2 separate regions of the Homo sapiens genome follow, and region 1 is linked to region 2. The links are contacts of gene promoters, found by promoter capture Hi-C in human tissues and cell types (Jung and others, 2019). All regions are on one chromosome and are shown on one strand. The core of a region is centred on a gene start or on the middle of the fragment in contact, and the rest is flanking DNA. Distances in the headings are between cores, read along the strand shown.

Region 1 (5,798 bases), core at 2,666-5,165, 1.2 Mb after region 2:
TTGATGTACCTTTCACAGTTATAGCTGTGAACTTTTTCCTTTAGTACTGCTTTTGCTATCTTCCACTGGTTTTGAAAGGTTGTGTTTCCATTATAATTTGTTTCAATCAATTTTTCAATTTTCTTCTTAATTTCTTCATTGACCACTGGTCATTCAGGAGCATATTGGTTAGTTTCCACTTGTTTGTGTAGTTTAAAAAATTCCTCTTGTTATTGATTTCTAGTTTTATTTAATTGTGATCAGAGAAAATATTTGATATAATTTCAATTTTTTTGAATTTTTCAAAACTGGTTTTGTGACCTAACTTATGGTCTATCCTTGAGTATGATCCATGTGCTGAGAAGAATGTATATTCTGCAATCATTAAAGTGTTTTTTAAATATGTATAAGGTCCACAGGGTAGATGCATAAGGTCCATATAAGATTCATAAGGTCCATAGCGTAGATTAAGTCTGATGTTTTTTTATTGATTTTCTGTCTAAATGATCTGTCTAATACTGAAAGTGGGGTGTTGAAATGTCTGGCTATAATCATACTGGGGCTCTCTCTCTCTCTTTAGCTCTAATAACATTTACTTTGTATATCAGGGTGCTCCACTGTTGGGTGCATATATTTACAATTGTGATATTTTCTTGCTGAATTGACTGCTTTATCATTATATGATGACCTTCTTTTTCTTTTTTTATAGTTTTTGTCTTGAAATCTATTTTGTCTGATATAAATATAGTTAACTCTTTATCTTTTTTTGGTTTCCTTTTGCATGGAATGTCTTTTCATCCCTTTCTTTCAGTCTATGTGTGTCTTTATAGGTGAAGTATGTTTCTAGCAGGCAACAGATCACTGGGTCTTTTTTTTTTTTTAAATCCATTCTGTCACTATGTCTTTTGATTGGAGAATTTAATTCATTTACATTCAATATTATTATTGATAAGCAAGAACTTACTCTTGCCATTTTATTTGTTTTATGGTTGTTTTATGTTCTTCCTTCTTTCCTTCCTTCCTGTCTTTCTTTCAGTGAAGGTGATTTTCCTCTAGTGGTATATTTTAATTTCTTGTTTTTATTTTCTGTGTATCTGTTGTATGTTTTCTTTCCTTTTTTTTCCCTTAAAGAGCCAGCTAGAATTTCTGTGGCATGTTTTTTTATTTGAGGTTACCATGAGGCCTGCAAATAATATCTTATAACCAATTATTTTAAACTGATGACAACTTAACACTGATTGCATGAACAAACTAACCAGCAAAGAGAAAACTGATAAAAACTGTACACTATAACTTTGTCTCTCTGCTTTTTAACTTTTTGTTGTTTCTATTTCTATCTTATTGTACTATGTCTTGAAAAGCTGTTGTAATTATTATTTTTGATCAGTTCATCTTTTACTCTTTTTACTCATGATGTGAGTAGTAGACACACCACATTATAGTGTTATCATATTCCATGCTTTTCTGTGTACTTACTATTACCAGTGAGTTTTGCACCTTCAGATGATTTCTTATTGCTCATTAATGTCCTTTTTTTTCAGATCGAAGACCTCTTTTTAGCATTTCTTGTAAGACAGGTCTGATGTTGATAAAATTCATCACCTTTTGTTTGTCTGGGAAAGTCTTTTTTTTCCTTCATGTCTAAAGGAAATTTTCACTGCATATATTCTTCTAGGACAAAAGTTATTTTCCTTTAGCACTTAAAATATGTCATGCCACTCTCTCCTGGCCTCTAAGGTTTCTACTAAAAAAGTCTGCTGCCAGATGTTTTGGAGCTCTGTTGTATGTTAATTGCTTCTTTTCTTTTGCTGCTTTTATGATTCTTTCTTTACCCTTGACTTTTGGGAGTATGATTATTAAATGTCTTGAGGTAGTCTTATTTGGGTTTAATCTGCTTGGTTGTATAACTTTATTTTACTTGAGTATTGATTTCTTTCTCTAGGTTTGGGAAATTCTCTGTTATTATCCTTTTGAATAAACTTCCTACTCTGATCTCTCTCTTTACCTTCTCTTTAAGGCCAATAACTCTTAGATTTAAACTTTAGAGATATTTTCTAGATCCCGTAGGTGTGCAACATTTCTTTTTATTTTTTTCTTTTGTCTCTTCTGACTGTGTATCTTCAAATAGGCTGTCTTCAAGCTCACTAATTCTTTCTTCTGCTTAATCAACTCTGCTGTTAAGAGACGCTGATGCATTCTTCAGTATGTCAATTGCATTTTTCAACACCAGAATTTCTGCTTAATTATTTCAATCTCTTTGTTAAATTTATCTGATAGGATTCTGAATTCCTTTTCTGTGTTATCTTAAATTTCACTAAGTTATCTTATAACAGCTATTTTGAATTCTGTCTGAAAGGTTGCATACCTCTGTCTTTCTGGAATTGGTTACTGGTGCCTTATTGAGTTTGTTTGATGAGGTCACGTTTTCTTGGATGGTCATGCTTGTGGATGTTTGTCAGTATCTGGGCATTGAAGAGTTAAGTATTTATTGTAGTCTTTGTAGTCTGGGCTTGTTTGTACCAGTCCTTGGGAAGGCGTTCTAGGTATTCAAAGGGACTTGTGTTATGTAATCTATGTTTTTGGTCACTATACCCATATCTGGGCACCCCAAACCCAGTAATGCTGCGGTTCTTGCAGACTTGTAGAGGTACTGCCTTGGTGGTCTTGGATAATATCCAGAAGAATTCTCTGGATTACCAGGCAGAGTCTCTTGTTCTCTTCTTTTACTTTGTCCCAAACAAACAAAGTCTCTCTCTCTGTGCTGAGCTCCCTGGAGCTGGGGGAGGAGTGACACAAACACCCCTGTTGCCACCACTGGGACTATGCTGGGTCAGATCTGAAGCCAGCATAACATTGGATCTCACCCAATGCCTGTGATAATCCCTGCCTGGCTACTGCCTATGTTCACTCAAGGCTCTAGAGCTCTACATCAGTAGATGGCAAAGCAATCCAGGCTTGTTTCCTTCCCTTCAGGATGGCAAGTTCCCTCTGGCCTTGGGAAGGTCTAGAGATGTTATCTTGGAGCCAGGGTCTGTAGTCAGAAACCTTAGGAATCTACTTGGTACTCTATTCTACTGCAGCTGAGCTGGCATCCAAGCCACAAGACAAAGTCCTTCCCACTCTTCTCTCCTCTTTTCATAAGCAGAAGAGTCTCCCCCTGTGGCCACCACTACCCCAGACCTGCAATGAGTACTGCCTGGCCACCACGAATGTTCACTCTCAAGGCTCAAGTGCTTTTTAATCAGCTTGAGGTGAATGCTGCCAGTTCTAGGACTCTCCCTTGAAGGCTGTGGGCTCCCAGGCCAGGTCTAGAAATTCCATCCAAGAGCCAAGGCCTGAAATCAGAGACCCCAGGAGCTCACTCAGTCTTCTACTCCACTGTGGCTGAGCTTCTACCTAAGCTGCAAGACAAAGTCCTTTCTACTCTTCCCTCTCTTTTTCTCAAGCAGCAGGAATCTCTCCCCATAGTCACAACAGCTGGGAATGTGGTGGTCATGCCTAAAGTCAACACATTTCTGAGTCTCATCCAAAGCCCATGATGAGTACTGCCTAGGTATCACTGCCAATTATCCAGGGCCAAAGGGCTCTTTAGTGCACAGGTGATGAATCCTGTTGGGACTGGGCCCTTCCCTTCAAGACAGTGGGCTCTCTTCTGGCCCAACATGTGTCTAGAAATGTTCAGGAGCTAGAGCCTGGAATGGAGGCCTCAGGACTCTGCCTGGTGCCCTATCATATTATGGCTGAGCTGGCATCCAAGTTGCAAGACAAAGTTCTCTTTACTCTTCCCTCTTCTCTCCTCAAGCAGAGTAAAGGAATATCTCCCAGAGCTGCGAGCTGTACTGCCTGGAGCATTCTCTTTGCCTCTCCAGCTGGTGTCTCACTACATCATGTGCCCCCAAGTCCACTGGCTCTGAACCCAGCACAGTATCAGGACTTGCCCAGGAATTATAGTCCTTATGGCCTAGATTGCCTTGCAAGTTTATTTAGGACCCAGAGAACTTTAGTCCACAGAGGTGAGGCTTGCCAGAACTCACGTTCCAACTGTTCGGATGGGCAATTCCCCTCTGGTTAAGGCAGTCCAAATTCTCCTTCTATAGGTGCTGGCTGAGTGCTGCCCAGTGTGCTTTCTGCTGTCATAGAGCTGAACTGTGTTTTAATGGAAAGTCCCACAGTCACTGCACTTTCTCTCTCCCAAGCACACAGATTCTCTCTGTGCCACATGGCTGCTGCTGGAGGATGGGGGAGGGGGGCATTGGTAATTCAAGACTATCTTTTCTACTCTTTTCAGCATCTCTGTCAAGGATATAAAATTAAAAACAGGTACTGTGATCACTCACCTAATTTTTGGTTCTTACAAAGCTGCTTTTTGCATAGATAGTTGTTTGATTTGGTGTTCCTTTAGGGAGGATGATCAGTGAAGTCCTCTATTTGGCTATCTTGCTGTGCCTCCTGAAAAGACGTGATCAAATATTTCTTAATCCATGAGTACAACAAGGCTGGTTTAATATTCAAAAAACAGTAGATGTAATCTTCCATGTTGATAGATTAAGAAAGGAAAACTGTATGATCATTTAAATAAATGTCAAAAAGGCATTTGACAAAAATCAAAAATCAAAATAGAAACAAATTTTTTCAACCTTGTAAAGGGATTAATAAAAAACCTATGTCTAACATCATACTTAATACTTAGAGACTGATATTTCTCCCCAATATCAGAAGCAAGTAAAAAATGTCTGTCTTACTACTTTTATTCAAAATTTTTTCAAAATGTCAAGCCTTCGCAAAAGGCAAAAAAAAAAAAAAAAAAAAAGGAAAAAGGAATGAAACGCATGGTAGCAAAATTGGAAATGAAGAAGTAAAACTGTTAGTATTAGCTAACAATATGATTTTCTATATAGAAAATTCTACCAAATCTCCAAAATGCTGCTAGAACTGCTACTCTTACCTTAATAATAATGTGCTATTCAAAATCAATATAGAAATCAATATAAAAAGTCAATTTTATTTCTATGTATTAATACTAGCAACAAAAAACCCCATTCATTGTAAGTAAAGAAACAGCACAATTTACATAGTATAAAAAGGTACTTAAGAGTAAATCTTACAAAAGATACACCAGACCTGAAAACTACAAAACATTACTGAAAAAAAAATTAAAGAATGCTCAAATAAATAGATATACCATGTTCATGGATTGTAAGACTCATCTTATTGTTAAGATGTCAGCTCTCCTTGAATTGATCTGTAGTTTCAATGCATTTCTTTTTTTGTTTGTTTTTTGTTTGTTGTTTGTTTTTGTTTGTTTGTTTGTTTTTTGAGATGGAGTCTTACTCTCTTGCCCAGGCTGGAGTGCAGTGGCATGATCTTCGGCTCACTGCAAGCTCCACCTCCCGGGTTCATACCATTCTCCTGCCTCAGCCTCCCAAGTAGCTGGGACTATAGGCGCCTGCCACCACGCCCAGCTAATTTTTTGTATTTTTTAGTAGAGATGGGGTTTCACCATGGTCTCAATCTCCTGACCTCATGATCCGCCTGCCTCGGCCTCCCAAAGTGCTGGGATTACAGGCATGAGCCACTGTGCCTGGCCAGTTTCAATGCATTTCTACACAAAATTCCATCAGACTGTTTTCTAGAAGTTGACAAGCTGATTCTAAAATGCATATAGAAATGCAAATGATCTAGAATGTCTAAAACAAACTTGTAAGGGAAAAACAAAATTAGAAAACTTTCACTATTTGACTTCTGGCTTCTTCCCTAGATACAGTAATCAAGACAGTGTGTTCTTGTTGTTAACATGGACAAGTAAATTAATAAAACAG
Region 2 (5,354 bases), core at 1,148-3,647:
TAGCTTACACATGACAACAACAGAGTTAAGGAAGTTCAGTGTGGAAAGGGGTAGGGACAAACAGCTAAGTTTACAAAAAGAAAAATCCCTCCCAGGCCAGCCAGGCTGAGAAGATAGGAGCACACAGCTGACCCACGTCACGCAGCTCACTGCCTCCAGCTGGAGCTCACAGGCTTGACCAGAGCATCAGAAACAGACGAGCAGTCTCCATGGCCCCAAGCGATGACCTCCCCAGTCCAATCTGTGTGCCGCTGGGGACCAAGACTCACCACCCCCTCAGTGAGGAAGTAGGGCACGGCAGAAAGAGGGTCCTCAGAGCCAGGAGAACTGAACTCTATGCCTCAATGGCACATCTGTAAAATGGGGCAATAGACTAGAGAGCTGGGACATAACCAGCGGACACATGAGCTCATATGTGATCAGCTCAACCCTGACAACAACCACGTGATGTATCATATGCTCAGCAATAAAATACCTTGCCTGCCATCACCTGGCAAGTAAATCCCAGAGCTGGGCCAGAGCTTTGTGCCTAATTACTATAATGATACTGCCATCGTCTCTCGCTTTCAAACCTGCGTTCTTTCAAAAGCTTACAAATAACTTGAGTACTAAACAAGTCCAATCCTGTTTTTAAAAGCACCACTTGAACTGATTCTGTAAGAAATCCTTTTGCAAAGTGAACCACCCATCTTGGAGATTCATTATCAATAGAACTTTCAGAGTCCCGGTGTGAGTGAGGCTCCCAGAAGCAGGTTACCCCCCTGGAAGGCTGGGCGGTGCCCTGCCTGGGCCTCCTCTTTCACTGGGAATCACCAAAAATCATGTTTGGGGGAATAATTAGATTTCTTCCCATTAATTACTCATCTACAAAACTTTCCAAAGTTAGCTTCCAGTTTTCATTTTCCAGAAGGAATGTCATCTCATGATAATCAGTTTAGGGGGTAATGCCACAACTTAATGATAATCTCCAGAAATGTGAGGCTGTAAAGCAAAACCCAGAAATTCACATTGGTACCTAGAAGGGGGTGGCCAGGACAACATACTTGACGAGGCCTGCTTTAAACCTAAGTCTGGACTCTTACACCATAGGAGACCACAGGAGACCCACCCCAAAAGCAGAACAATCAATCCCTGTAATCCCCTCTCTGCCAATCCCTACCCCCTCCTTTGCAACAGTTAGAGTAATAAAGTTTATAGTAATGAGTTTTATGCTTCTCTAGTGATGAAATTCCATCAGTGTCGGTAAAAATGAAACCGCAAAGGTGGCCAGCACCTGGGTTCCTGCCAGCCTTGAAGCCCCCGTCCCTCCCTCCCAGCAAACCAACCACGGCCTGCACTGTGGGTGCCTGTCACAGAGCTGATGTCCTCGCGGGTCATCCCTCATCCCCGCATCCAGACACCGGGTCATGTCCCTGTGCTTCCTGCCCACTAACTGGGAGGATGACGCAGCGGCGCCGGGAGTCCAGGGCTGATTGGGCCGGCGGTTCCCGGAGCCGAGCCCGCGAACTCACAGCATCACCACCACTGGGAGCTCCTTCGCAATGCAGATTCCCGGAGCTCCAGACCCCAGGCAGAAACGCGCCCGCGTCCATGCTCCACGAGCCCCCTTGGGGTGCCGATGCCCTGGGTTTTCGAATCTGGTCTGCACCCTCCCTGGTCTCCAAGAGAGGTTGAAACTGAGACTGAGTGTGATTTACCGGAGTCCGGACGTGAACCGAGAGACGGGGAGGTGTTGGGGGGGGGCGTCATAAAGAGCTCCCCAGTGCAGAGGGGGAGGCCTGGGGGAACATGGGGGAGACGTGCCGGGCGGCCCCCGCCCCCCCAGGACCCCCACTCACTGCCGGTAGGGGTCGTGGAAGGGCAGCGCCAGCCAGGCGCCATGCAGCTCGCGCATGAAGTCCAGCATCTCCTGGGAGCTGCCGTCGGCTGACACGAAGACCACTTCGAAGGGCGCGGGCCGCCGCGCCTCGGCCACCAGCGCCGTATAGAAGTCGCAGAGCAGCGGCGTGAAGTCGCGGCTCGGCGCGCACCGGGCCGCCGCGAAGTACAGTGCCACCACCTTGTTCTGCAGCGCCGCCTCGGCCTCCACCGTCGCGCCCTTACAGGTCACCAGGTGCCGCTCGCCCAGAATGTCAACCATGGCGCAGACACGCAGCCACCTGAGACCCGAGGACACCTGCAGGAGGATGATCACCTGCGGGGAGGCGGCGGCGAGCGCCGCGGTGCCCCGCCTCTGTCCGCACCACCGGGCGCTGGACCTCTCAAGACCTGCCCCAGATGCGCCCACACCTTGGCCAGGCCTCGCCTGTGGCTGGAGCAATTGTGTTCGCGCCGACAATGAGACACTCAGACACCAGAGACCCCAGATACCTGGGCGACAGCGCGGCACCCGCCTCTGGGAGCGGGGCCAGCCAGGCAACCTCAAGCCCTCAGGTCTCTGCACCCTCCCCCAACTGCGCCCCGCCCACACTCCTGCGCCCTCCCACCACTGCGCCCCGCCCACATTCCCCGCAAGCTCCCCAACTGCGCCCCGCCCACATTCCGCACTCTCCACCCACTGCGCCCCGCCCACATCCCGCACTCTCCACCCACTGCGCCCCGCCCACATCCCCGCCCCCGCCCCCACTGCGCCTCGCCCGCATCCCCACACTGTCCCCCACTGCGCTGGGCCCACATCCCTACACTCTCCACCCACTGCGCCCCGCCCACATCTCCGCACCCTCCCCCACCGCACCCCGCCCACATCCCCGCACTCTCCTCCAACTGCGCCTCGCCCACATTCCACAGTTTCCCCTCACTGCGCCCCGCCCACATCCCCGCACTCTTCTCCAACTGCGCCTCGCCCACATTCCACAGTTTCCCCTCACTGCGCCCCGCGCACACTCCCGCTCCCTCCCCCACTGCGCCCCGCCCACACTCCCGCGCCCTCCCCCTCACTGCGGCCCGCCGACATCCCGCGCCCCCGCCCCCATCCCGACTGCGCCCCGCCCACCTCCCGCGCCCTCTCCCACTGGTTGTCCAGCCCACATCCTGCACTCCCTCCACTGCGCCCCGCTCACACTCCCGCACCCTCCCCACACTGCGCCCTGCCCACACTCCTGCACTCTCTCCCCACTACGCCCCCTACCACATCCCGCGCCCCCGCCCCCATCCCCACTGCGCCCCGCCCACACTCCCGCGCCCTCGCGCCCCTGGGCTCTCCCGTCGTGGGCACTCTCCCCAGCGCTTCTACACTTTCTCCCGACGCAGCGCCCTGCCCTCCGTCCCGCCCCACCTATTGCCTCCTGCGCTTCCCCCACACCGTGCTCTTCCTCCTCCTTCACTTCCTCCCACTCCTCGCGCTCCCCTTCAGCGCCCCACGCAGCCCCTCCCCCAAAACCCCGCGTCGCTCTCCTTCCCTCCTGGCCTCTCTTCCAGTCTCGCGCTCCCTGCCGGGCCCCGCCGCAGGTGTCCCGCAGCCGTCTCCCCAGGGCATTTGAATCTTGCCTTGGAGCTCTTGCCGCGCGGCCCAGCACCCTGGAAGAGGCATCAGGGAGGATGGGACGACGAGGAAGGGGAAGGGTAATTGGGCTTGGAGCGGGCTTGGGCGGGGTGGTAGGGAACCTGAGCTCCGTTGGTTCAGGGTGTTTGCCCCTGACATCCTGTGGCCTGGCTGGGAGGGTTCGTGAAGTTCAGGAAGAAATTGGGAGCAGTCCTTACAGAATGTTTTATTTGAAGAACCAAGAGTATTAATTTTTTGGCGAGCACTGTTGTAGGCCCTGGGAATTCAGCAGTGAGAAAAATAATTTCAACTCCCTGCCAGACCCGGGCTAGAAGGAGGCAAGCGAGCGAGGCACTCGCATAGGGGCAAAATTTAAGGGCGCGACAAAAAAACTCAGTAGTCAAGGTAAATAATGTTTTAATACAATATCTTAAAAAGTCAAAATGAATGCAAAAAAAGTTTATAATGAACAAAATATCAAAAACTTAAAGACAGTGAATGAAACCAAAATATGCCATCCTAAAATATGCCGCTTTGGTATATTGATTATTTTGAGCGAGAGGCACTTGAAAAATAGCAAATGCAGAGAGACGTTCTCCCCTTACCTGTCTAAAGACGGAACCTCCAAAAGAAACTGATTGTCGTAAATTCCCTCCCGGGAGGATGGACTCTTATCACAGCAGAAGTCCACACCACACCTAGACAAACTTTGTCACAAACTCATAAAGACTTATGCATCTTTCCTAAAAATCAGTTACTCTCCCCTAAGTGGCCTACACCAGCTTCCAGTTCCCCAATTTTAGAAGCTCTCAAAGCTCACTGGTTTGGGGGGTTTTCACCTAGTTTCCTGCAATGCCCCCATGCAGGTGATATTAAAGATTAATAAATGTGTATTCCCGTTCCCCCCGTTCATCTGCCCGTTGGCAGTTAATTTCATAGAGCCAGCTATGGAACTGGGGAGGACAGAGAGAAGGTCTTTGCTCTCCTAAGACAAGATGGATCCCCCACTGACTTTGGACTCCCGTCACGTTCACCGACCCCTGAGTCCTGCTCCTGTGCCTGCCTGGAGCTTATGTTCTAACGGGCACAAACAATAAATAAGGAAGATATTTTGCAGGTGCTATGCCAAAAGAAGAGCCATGAGGAGGGGCGCAGGTTTTTGTTTTGTTTTATTTTGGTTTGGTTTGGTTGGTTGGTTGAGATGGAGTCTCGCTCTTGTTGCCCAGGCTGGAGTGCAATGGCGTGATCTCGGCTCACTGCAACCTCCGCCTCCCGGGTTCAAGCAATTCTCCCGCCTCAGCCTCCTGAGTAGCTGGGATTACTGGCGCGTGCCACCACGCCCAGCTAATTTTTGTATTTTTAGTAGAGACGGGGTTTCATCATGTTAGCCAGGCTGGTCTCAAACTCCTGACTTCAGGTGATCTACCCACCTCTGCCTCCCAAAGTGCTGGAATTACAGGCTTGAGCCACCGAGGGGCGCAGTTTTAATCTAGCGGTGAGAGGAGTCAGGGAAGGTGAAATTTGCGCTTCCTGAGGACCCGCCTGCCGGCCCGGGCTCCCCCAGTCTCGCCGTTAAATGAACGGAAATTGGCGGACGCCGTTGCCTGCAGGCACAGCCCGTCGGCTCGGTTGCGTAAATGTACTTAGCAGCCAAAGCTCAGTGGAAACCCTGCGGGAGGATTGATTGGCGCTCTTAGGTGAAGCAGGCTGTCAAGAGCCCCGATTCACTGTCCTCTGGGGAAAATGGATAGACAAATCGGAGGAAAAAATTGAGAGGAACTGTGAGCAGTATAAATCTTGCATGAGGAGGCCCCTGACTTACGTTAAAACTCAGAGGTAAGAGGAATGAAATGCAGCTAAGCTCTCAAAATCA

Evidence for each region. Contacts are between HindIII fragments. The study calls those that stand out against the background at their distance.
Region 1: a fragment that was not itself captured here is called in contact with the fragment with the promoter of NXNL2 in region 2 in 1 of the 25 tissues and cell types used here (dorsolateral prefrontal cortex).

The regions. Positions count from the first base shown.
Region 1 is chr9:87,357,168-87,362,965 of GRCh38, reverse strand. No RefSeq gene overlaps it. Among named protein-coding and RNA genes, the nearest start is that of DAPK1, 140 kb to the left of the region's middle. The HindIII fragment of the contact is 7,043 bases long and covers 394-5,798 here.
Region 2 is chr9:88,532,221-88,537,574 of GRCh38, reverse strand. NXNL2 (nucleoredoxin like 2) reads right to left here and starts at 2,397. Exons shown (of 2, transcript NM_001161625.2): 1 at 1,839-2,397. The coding sequence starts at 2,140. It overlaps LOC105376134 (a long non-coding RNA gene), which reads left to right and starts at 3,035. Exons shown (of 2, transcript XR_007061653.1): 1 at 3,035-3,561. RefSeq lists enhancers at 943-1,776, 1,777-2,611. The HindIII fragment of the contact is 10,556 bases long and covers 1-5,354 here.